Regions from separate parts of the Homo sapiens genome. Here region 1 is linked to region 2. The links are contacts of gene promoters, found by promoter capture Hi-C in blood cells and fetal thymus (Javierre and others, 2016). All regions are on one chromosome and are shown on one strand. The core of a region is centred on a gene start or on the middle of the fragment in contact, and the rest is flanking DNA. Distances in the headings are between cores, read along the strand shown. Region 1 holds the start of SULT1C2 (sulfotransferase family 1C member 2). Region 2 holds the start of LIMS1-AS1 (LIMS1 antisense RNA 1).

What was found. The method cuts DNA at HindIII sites, captures the fragments that hold promoters and counts their contacts. A CHiCAGO score of 5 or more calls a contact.
Region 1: a contact is called between a fragment that was not itself captured here and the fragment with the promoter of LIMS1-AS1 in region 2, in 5 of 17 cell types (M0 macrophages, M1 macrophages, total B cells and 2 more). The highest score is 8.6, in M0 macrophages.

What each region holds. Positions count from the first base shown.
Region 1 is chr2:108,287,510-108,292,302 of GRCh38, forward strand. It overlaps SULT1C2 (sulfotransferase family 1C member 2), which reads left to right and starts at 1,386. Exons shown (of 8, transcript NM_001056.4): 1 at 1,386-1,561. The HindIII fragment of the contact is 242 bases long and covers 1,130-1,371 here.
Region 2 is chr2:108,675,769-108,680,162 of GRCh38, forward strand. LIMS1-AS1 (LIMS1 antisense RNA 1) reads right to left here and starts at 2,833. Exons shown (of 3, transcript NR_149074.1): 1 at 2,671-2,833; 2 at 1,546-1,723; 3 at 1,027-1,162. LIMS1 (LIM zinc finger domain containing 1) reads left to right here. Exons shown (of 10, transcript NM_001193483.3): 6 at 110-260; 7 at 838-930; 8 at 2,211-2,259. The HindIII fragment of the contact is 5,789 bases long and covers 977-4,394 here.

The sequences.
Region 1 (4,793 bases), core at 1-2,500, 390 kb before region 2:
GATACTGGCAGACACTTTAGTAGACTTAGGGACTTTAACTGCAGAGAAAATGTGAGGTTGCACTAAGAACTGTGAATCAGCCCTATGGGGCTGAAAATTGACAGCACTGGGATAAGTGGAACTGGAAAGAGAGCAGAAGTAGAAAAATAAAGTTCAGCCGGGCGCAGTGGCTTATGCCTGTAATCCCAGCACTTTGGGAGGTCAAGGCGGGCAGATCACCTGGGAGCAGGAGTTGGAGACTAGCCTGGCCAACATGGTGAGACCCCGTCTCTACTAAAAATACCAAAAAAAAATTAGCTGGGCATGGTGGCGCACGCCTGTAGTCCCAGCTACTCAGGAGGCTGAGACAGGAGAATCGCTTGAACCCGGGAGGCGGAGGTTGCAGTGAGCCAAGATTGCACCATTGCACTCCAGCCTGGGCAACAGGAGTGAAACACCATCTCAAAAAAAAAAAAAAAAAGAAAAAAGAAAGAAAAAGAAAGTTCAATTTATTGGGAAAAAAAGAGCCCTTTGGAAACAAGGAGGAAGAAGAAGTGTCGGCAAAGAAGCATTAGGAGGTTCAGGGTCAAAGAAGACAAGGAAAGCTTTGGCAAGAAGGGCAGATGGGGTGCAGAATTATGCTTCAATTCCAGAAAGGAAAGCACTGGGGTAGATACAAGGTTGGGGCTGGCAGAAGAGTAGCAGTTCAGAGATCATTAACACTTGATCCATTTAATTTCCCAGGTAACCAAAGACACCATGGAATATAATCTGCCTCCACTAAAGTGTACCTTTTGTACAATAAGGCAAAGAAAAAATAAGTACACACCTAAGCTCTAGACTTTTGTTCTATCCTCTCTGCATTTTCGGTGTGGATGAATACAACTTGGGAAGAAAGGAAAGAAGAACCAGCAGTTTTAAGCACTTACTATTTGCTCTGCAAAGTGTATTCATCAACATTGTTGCTTTCAATCTTAAAGCATGGATTGGAGACAGGCAGTATTACCCACACTTCATAGATGCAGAAATTAAATCTCAGGCTAAGGAGGAAGGAAAAGGGAGTTCACCAAATAAGCAGGAGCCTACCTGAAGCCTGATGCATCTGGTCCTAGAGCCAACCTTCCATTTCCCCCCAGCCCCCACCTGTTTAAGCTTCGAGGCCAGTGGGAGGAGGGAGGGGCCAGGCAGCTGAGGGCCAGGAAAGATGTGAAAAACTCTAGCTGGTGACCGAGAGGAGGAGTAGAGTGTGCCCTTAGTTCATATGAACTAGAGGGAGTTGGTATTTGCACAGCAGTCAGGGTCACATGAGTGATCATGGTACAGTGAGAAGTTCTCCCTCCCAGGGCCAGGTCACAGGGTTTGTTTCTGTTCAATCCGGATTCTTCCAGTAAAAGCTTCAACTTCCCACACTGAAGCTGAGAGCCTCCCAAAGTGCTGGCTACCTGCTGAGCGCCCCCGTAACTCTGACACAGTAGTAATTTGAGCCTCTGCAATTGCCGTCTGCTTCCTGTGAAAGTCCTTTCCGTGCCCACTGACCCTTGAGTGGGCCTTTGAGCTGCTGACTTTCAGCTGGAACTTGAAGGTAAGAATATGGCTTAAAAGAAATTCTGTACCTAACTCGTTAATTTATTTTTTAACCTTTAGCCACATAGGTGTGGCTTTACAGATGCATTTATTCAAACCAGAAAAGATCCTAAGAATCTGATAAAATAATATAAAAGAGTTTTGTTAACAGCCTCCAGCCTAAAAATTCAGACCTAGAAATTCAGGACCCCCCTCAAATCACCTCCAAAAGCTCTCTCTCCTGTAATACTATCTCTGTCTCCCACCCTGATCTTTTCCCAAATACCCTCCCTGTCCCATCCTCCTCCAGGGCCAGCTCAACTTCTCTGGCCAAGACTATTTCTTCTTCCATGACAGCCCTCCTCTTATGCCAGCCATTGACTAAGACACATGCTGGGCCTGCAAGGGGACTGAACCAGATCCTGTGCTCCAAGGGTCCAGACTTATAAGCAAGTAATTGTAGGACGTGGAGTAAGACCTATAAAATTTGCACACAAAATACTATAGGATCCCATGGAAAGGAGTGATTACTTCTGTTTACAGAGTCAGGGATGCCTCCACAAAGGAGGCCATAGTGATCTGGCCTGATATGATGAAAATGTCCCTGCTGGCTGCTCAAGGGGAAATGTATGTGTCTACATGCCTGACTCTCCAAGGGCAGGAACCATGTGCTGATGTGGCCCAGCAATGAGGGGCCTGGGGAGGGTGAGAAGGACTTGGGACTTCTCCTGTGGGAACTGGCAGATCCCTCTGCTCCCACTGCACTACCCAGCTGCCTCAATCTCTTGCTGCATCTCCTTCTCCCAGCTTTAGCCAGGTTCTATCACTCCCCGTGCAGGCCTCCAACAAGAGCAATACAGTGGGATCCATAGTTCACTGGACAGCCAAGCCCTTAACCGCCCTGGTCCTCAGCAGCAGCAGGTGCCCTTCCACACATGTTCACAGCTGTGCCCAGGCCCTCGGTCATCAGCTACCTGCCCAGAGCACAACGCCTACCACAGAGTTGGTCAATGTGTTGCGTGGATTATTCTCAGGGCATTAGTTCAAGGCCAGAGCCCTAAGCTCACATGTACACCTGCCTACAGGTGTACATTGGGAAGTCCCATAAATACATCAGACTCAACCCCAGAATTGGACTCACCATCCCCTCACCCCCACCCTATGGAGGACCTTCTCACTGTGTCCTTACATGGTCTTTCCTCCATGTGCACACATCCCTGGTGTTGCCTTGTGTGTCCTAATCTCCTCTCATTACAAGGATACCAGATTGGAATAGGTCTCATCCTAGCAGCCTCATTTTAACTTAATCACCTATTTAAAGACATTATCTCCAAATACAGCCACATGCTAATATACTATGAATTAGGACTTCAACATATGAACTTAGAGAGACACAATTCAAACCACGATAATGTCCGTCTTAGTCCATTTTATGTTGCTATAACAAAATACCTGAGGCTGGGTAATTTATAAATATAAGAGGTTTATTTTGAATCATGATTCTGGTGGCTGAAAAGTCCAAGAGCATGGTGCTGGCATCTGCTCAGCTTCTCGTGAGGGCCATGCTGCATCAAGACATGGTGAAGAAATAGAAAGGCAAGCAGGCATGTATAAAGGGACCAAACTCACCCACTTCTGGGAGATGGCATTAATCTACTCATGTGGAATCCACCCTTATGGCCCAAACACCTCTCACAAGACCCCGTGTCCTAGCACTGCCACACTGGCAGTTAAACTTCAACAGAGAGTTTTGGTGGGGACTAACCACATCCAAACCACAGCAGTATCCAAAAAGTGTTTTGTAGTTTTATGTTTATATATATGTATACTTTTTGTTCATAACTATGTATAAACAGTTTTCTATCACTATCACTGCCATAACAAATTATCAAAAATTTAGCAGCTTAAGACAATACAAGTTTATTATCTCACACCTCTGTAAGTCAGAAGTCCAAACAGGTGTCTCTGGGTAAAATCAAGGTGTTGGCAGGGCTGCGTTCCCTTCTGGAGGGTCTGAAGAAGAATCCCTTCCAAGCTCATTCTGGTTGTTGGCAGAATTCAGATTCATGTGGCTGTAGGATGGAGGTCCCATTTGCTTGTTGGCTGAGGTTCATTCTCAGCTTCTGGAGGTCATGCCTTGTCTTGTGTTCCCCTTTGTCTCTAAGCCATCAATGGCAAGTTGAGTCATTCTCATGCTTCCAAACTCTCCAGCCACTTCTTCTGCCACACGACTCTCTGACTGCTCTTCTACACCCTTGTCCACTTTTAAGTGCCCTTGTGGTCACATTAGACCCACCGGGATAATACAGGACATGCTCATTGCCTTAAGGTTCTTAACCTAAATTCCATCTGCAAAGCCCTTTGCCACACAATGTAATGTATTAGGAATTAGGACGTGGACATCTTTAGGGCCATTATTCTGCCTACAACAATATACATTTGAAAAAGACAGATAGAAATACATCAAAATAATAACAACTCTTGTGTGATAGATGTTTTCCTTGTACATTTGGACTGTTTCCAAAGTTTCTGCAATGTATAACTTTAAATTCACAATAAAAAAAAACAAGAGGCAATTTTTAAAGAAGGAACATAGGATTCGTATACAGATGTTGGCTGCGATCCTGGGCAAGTTATTGATCGTGTGACTCTCAGCTTCCTCACATTTATGAGGGTGATAATTATTCCTTCCTAATAAAATTGTCATATGAATTAAGAAAGAAAAAGAAAAGTCCACGAAGGACCTAACATAGAAGGCCTGCAAGAAATGTTTGTTCTTATCCCTCCTCTCCTGAATTTGATCATACCATTATCTCAGGAGTACTGTCCAAACTCCACCTTCTTTGATGTATTATAAATACAACTGCTTCTCATATTTGAAAATTTTCATAAATAATTTGTCTTTCGTTTTCCAAAAATTGTCTTCATCTTAAAGGGCTCAGCTCAATCTGGAAGCAGAAGCCACCATGAAAACTGCCCTCACTAATCTGGGCACCTAGTTTTCTCATCCATTCCATGAAGCAGCTGGGCCAGATTATTTTATTCAACCTCTAGCAAGCATGTACTGTTACATTTTCTGTAAGGACCCTTTCAGCTCCGAAGTTCTATCACTCATTTTCAGCAAAAGTTAAAATAAATTAATGTATACAAGGCCTCAGCCCAGCGTTGGCAAATTGACGTGTTCGATAAATGTTAGCTTTTAACTACTATTTCATTAGTAGTAGTAGTAATAAATGTCTTCTGGAACCCCA
Region 2 (4,394 bases), core at 1,583-4,082:
AGGGATTGTCATAGTAATGTCTTTAAAAACCTTCTAAAAAGTGTGCTAGCCCCATTGGTTGGCCACTTTTCTCTCTTAGTATTAAGCTGTGTGTCTTTCTCACGGACAGGAAGGAGCTGACTGCCGATGCACGGGAGCTGAAAGGGGAGCTATACTGCCTCCCATGCCATGATAAAATGGGGGTCCCCATCTGTGGTGCTTGCCGACGGCCCATCGAAGGGCGCGTGGTGAACGCTATGGGCAAGCAGTGGCATGTGGAGGTGAGTTCTAAATGGCAAAGGGTAACCAATCCTTTCAAATCTCCATGATTAAGGGGTAACCAATACTTTCAGATCTCCCATGATTCAGGGGTAACCAGTACTTTCAAATCTTCATGATTCAGGTGTCCTGGCAAGATTAGGAGACTCTAAAGATTAAACGTGGACATTTTAAAGACAATTGACTTTGCTGACAGCTAAGAATATATAATGTACACTGCTTTTGTGAATGTCTCAGTAATGATACAGGATGTGTACTTTTGCTCCTAAAGCCTTCTTGAAGCAGGAAGTGCCATGGTCTGTATCCAGCAGCAGCTCCTCCTTTATAGGTGCTACTGAGATGCTCACCTCTATTCTCTTTTTGGGCTATTATAATAGGCTATGTCTTAAAGTAACCTTCAAAGACAGACACCTGAATTACAACTGCAGAAGTATTATATTATGGGGCCACCTATGGCCAAATGAAATGACTGTCTCAAACTTTCCTTCATCTTCTCTGAAAATAGGTTAACTCTGGTATTTACTTTATTAGATATAAAATATGGCAATTCAAAAATGACCTATAGCAATTTTTTTTCAGCATTTTGTTTGTGCCAAGTGTGAGAAACCCTTTCTTGGACATCGCCATTATGAGAGGAAAGGCCTGGCATATTGTGAAACTCACTATAACCAGGTATTGACCTTAGTCACTGGATGCTAGATAGACTTTTATGAACCTAAGCTTATCAGTAGTTTAGCTACAAGGAAATCTCTTGGAAGATGTACATTGTTCAGTAGAGATTTGTTTTTAACTTTTTATTTGGGAAATAATTTCAGACTCAGAAGCTAACTATAAAATATACAAAGAATACCTGTATGTCTTTCATTCAAGTCCACAGTTTGCTTTATCATTTCCCAAGCTCAGTCTTCCTGTGTAAAACACATAGTTACGTAAATATTATATACAAGTACGATGGCTGTTTTGCCAATAAGTTCATCATACTCCTTTATCCCTAAATACTTCAGTGTATATTTCCCAAGAATATGGGACTCTCTAACATAATTGTAGTTATCAATATTGATACCGTACTCTAACCATTTATTCCAGTTTTGTCACTTGAGTCAATATCCTCACAGCATTTTTTCCACTCCCAGACTGGACCCAGCCTCTGGCTGTGATGTTTCTTTAGCCTTCTTAAATCTGGAACGTTTCCAGAGTCTTTTAAAATTTTTGATGACATTGACATTTTGGAGGGATGCAGAGGGCCCCTAACCCCTTTTTAATAGACTACTTTCCACTTGGGTTCACCTGGTGCTTCTCTGTGCTTAGATGAGGTTATACACAGCAGGTTGTGGCCTCATACAGTGGCAGGGCATCTTCTCAGAACCTTGCCCCTGGAGCATTTTATACCTCTCCTGCCCTGGTGATCTCCCAGGCATGGTGCTGGCTGATAACATCACTGTGAATTACAATTTCCTTCCCTCCTCTGTAAGAAAGAAGCAATCTGTGGGCAATCATTTTATGACCATGGAAATGTCCTGTTCCTCATCAACCTGCCCTAGATTCAGCACCCCTTGATGATTCTTGTCTCTGCGCCAGCTGCAAACGACACTTCTCCAGCCCCATGCCCTCCACCCATAGTCTGGTCCTCAGCGCTCTGCCTGAGCAAGAACCCACCTCCTCTCCCGTCTATAGGTTTATTCATTTATCTATTTCTTATCCATATGGACTCACAGATTTCTATATTTTGCATCACTTATTTGGGTGTTCAAACTGTCATCTGGAAAGTTTTTCTTTTAATTGATGAGAGTGAATTACTTTCATTGTAAGAAGTAAAAACTTGTCAAAGAACTTTTACTAAATTTCTCTAGTAGTGATAAATCCTCAATTTAGATAGCCAGCTATTTTTAAATGTTCAGTGTTCTAAAAATTCTAACACATCTTGAACTTTGACCACCTTTTTTTATTTTCAGCTATTTGGTGATGTTTGCTTCCACTGCAATCGTGTTATAGAAGGTGATGGTAAGTATCTGTGTGAGTTTTAGATTGGTGCCACTTTGACACAAAAACACTTGGGTAATGTGGAAATTCAGGTTGGTGATTGTATGGTTTGAAATGTGATCGTTATCAGTTACTTTTTCTCTATCTTTGGCGTATTTTCCAAGTAATCTGTAGCAGTAAGATGATAATATCAAAGAGTTGGATTTGTTACTGATTTATGACACTACTTTCGGCCACTGCTGCAGTGTTGTATGCCAGCAATCATGGGAACTGTCCCTGGTGGACCCTAAGACCTGTTTGTGTCCAGTTTCAGGAAGCTCTAGAACAACGTTTATTAGGAACAGTTTAATCTGCTATCGTAGTTAGGAAGAGGCACTTTAACCTGCACATGCTAAAAGCTGGCAGTTATCAGCAAGCATATCTAGGACTTACCACCCTTGTACTGTGGTAATTAGGCTGGGCTGATTGATTGGAACAGAAAGGAAGCAGCTGTGTTTGCTAAGACTCGCTAACACACTTCTGCCAGAGACTTCCTGGCAAAGTTTTGAACAATCCTGTTTTCAGCATGATTCATGGCTCCCTGCAGACATCACCTAATTCAGGAAATACTTTTGAAACACTGTTCATGTGCAGTTTGTGAAAACAATCCAGGAAAACAATCTTTAGTGCCATTGAAAATAAAACTTACCTCCCTCCTCTGTGAAATAGATGCCAGGTGAAAGAAGCTGCAAAGGAAACTGTCTTCTTATCATCAGCTCTGGAAAAAAGACTCCTACAGGGGCAAATAAGTTAATGTCTGGATTTTTGAAAATTATTTACCTAGTTCATATTTCCATGTTGGGCCAACAGCAGTAGGGACAGAAACAGCAAGCTCACCTAAACAACATGGTGCATGGACAGTTGCCACATGTGCCCAGGCCAAGGGGGCACAGTTGCTGGTGTAAGACATGGCACACATCATTTATAACTTCACAGGATACTTAAGGATGGGGGAAGATTAAAGTCAGCCCTCCGTATCCAGGGGCTGGATCCAAACATCCGTGGATTCAACCAACTATGGATCAAAAATATTTAGAGAAAAATAACAATATAACAGTACAAATAGTACAGTATAATGACTATTTACATATCATTTACATTGTACTAGGCATTATAATTAACCTAGAGATGATCTAAAGTATACGAGATAGGACCAGGCTCAGTGGCTCACGCCTGTGATCCCAACACTTTGGGAGGCCAAGGCGGGCAGATCAACTGAGGTCAAGAGTTCAAGAGCAGTCTGGCCAACATGGTGAAACCCCATCTCTACTAAAAATACAAAAACTTAGCTGGGTGTGGTGGTGCATGCCTATGATCCCAGCTACTCGGGAGGCTGAGACAGGAGAATCACCTGAACCCGGGAGGCAGAGGTTGCTGTGAGCCAAGATCACACCATTGCACTCCAGCCTGGGCAACAAGAGCAAAAACTTCGTCTCAAAAAAAATAAATAAATGTATACAAGACAATGTACATAGGTTATATGCATTTTATATCAGGGACTTGAGCGTCTGAGATTTTGGTATCCTCACAGCATCCTAGAAACAGTATCCTGCACATACTGAGCAACAACTGTATACATAAAGGTTGAGGGCCGGGTGTGGTGGCTTATACCTGTAATCCCAGCACTTAAGGAGGCCGAGACAGGAGAATTTCTTGAGGCCAGGAGTTCGATACCAGCCTGGGCAACAGAGCAAGACCTCCATCTCTACAAAATAAAAAATTAGCCAGGTGTGGTAGCACACACCTATGGTCCCAGCTACACAGGAGAACGAGAGGAGAAGATTGCTTGAGCCCAGGAGTTCGAGCTGTGATCGCACCACTGCAATACAGCCTGGACAACAGAGCGAGACCCTGTCTGAAAAACAAAAGAAAAGAAGCTCTCAGGAAAGAGGTTCTTGGCTGGGCATGGTGGCTCATGCCTATAATCTCAGCATTTTGGGAGACCGAGGCAGGTAGATTGCTTGAGCCCAGGAGTTCAAGACCGTCCTGGGAAACATGGCAAGACCGTGTCTCTATAAAAAATACAAAAATTAGACAGGTATAGGCCGGGCGCAGTGGCTCACGCTTGTAATCCCAGCACTCTGGGAGGCCAAGACGGGCGGATCACAAGGTCAAGA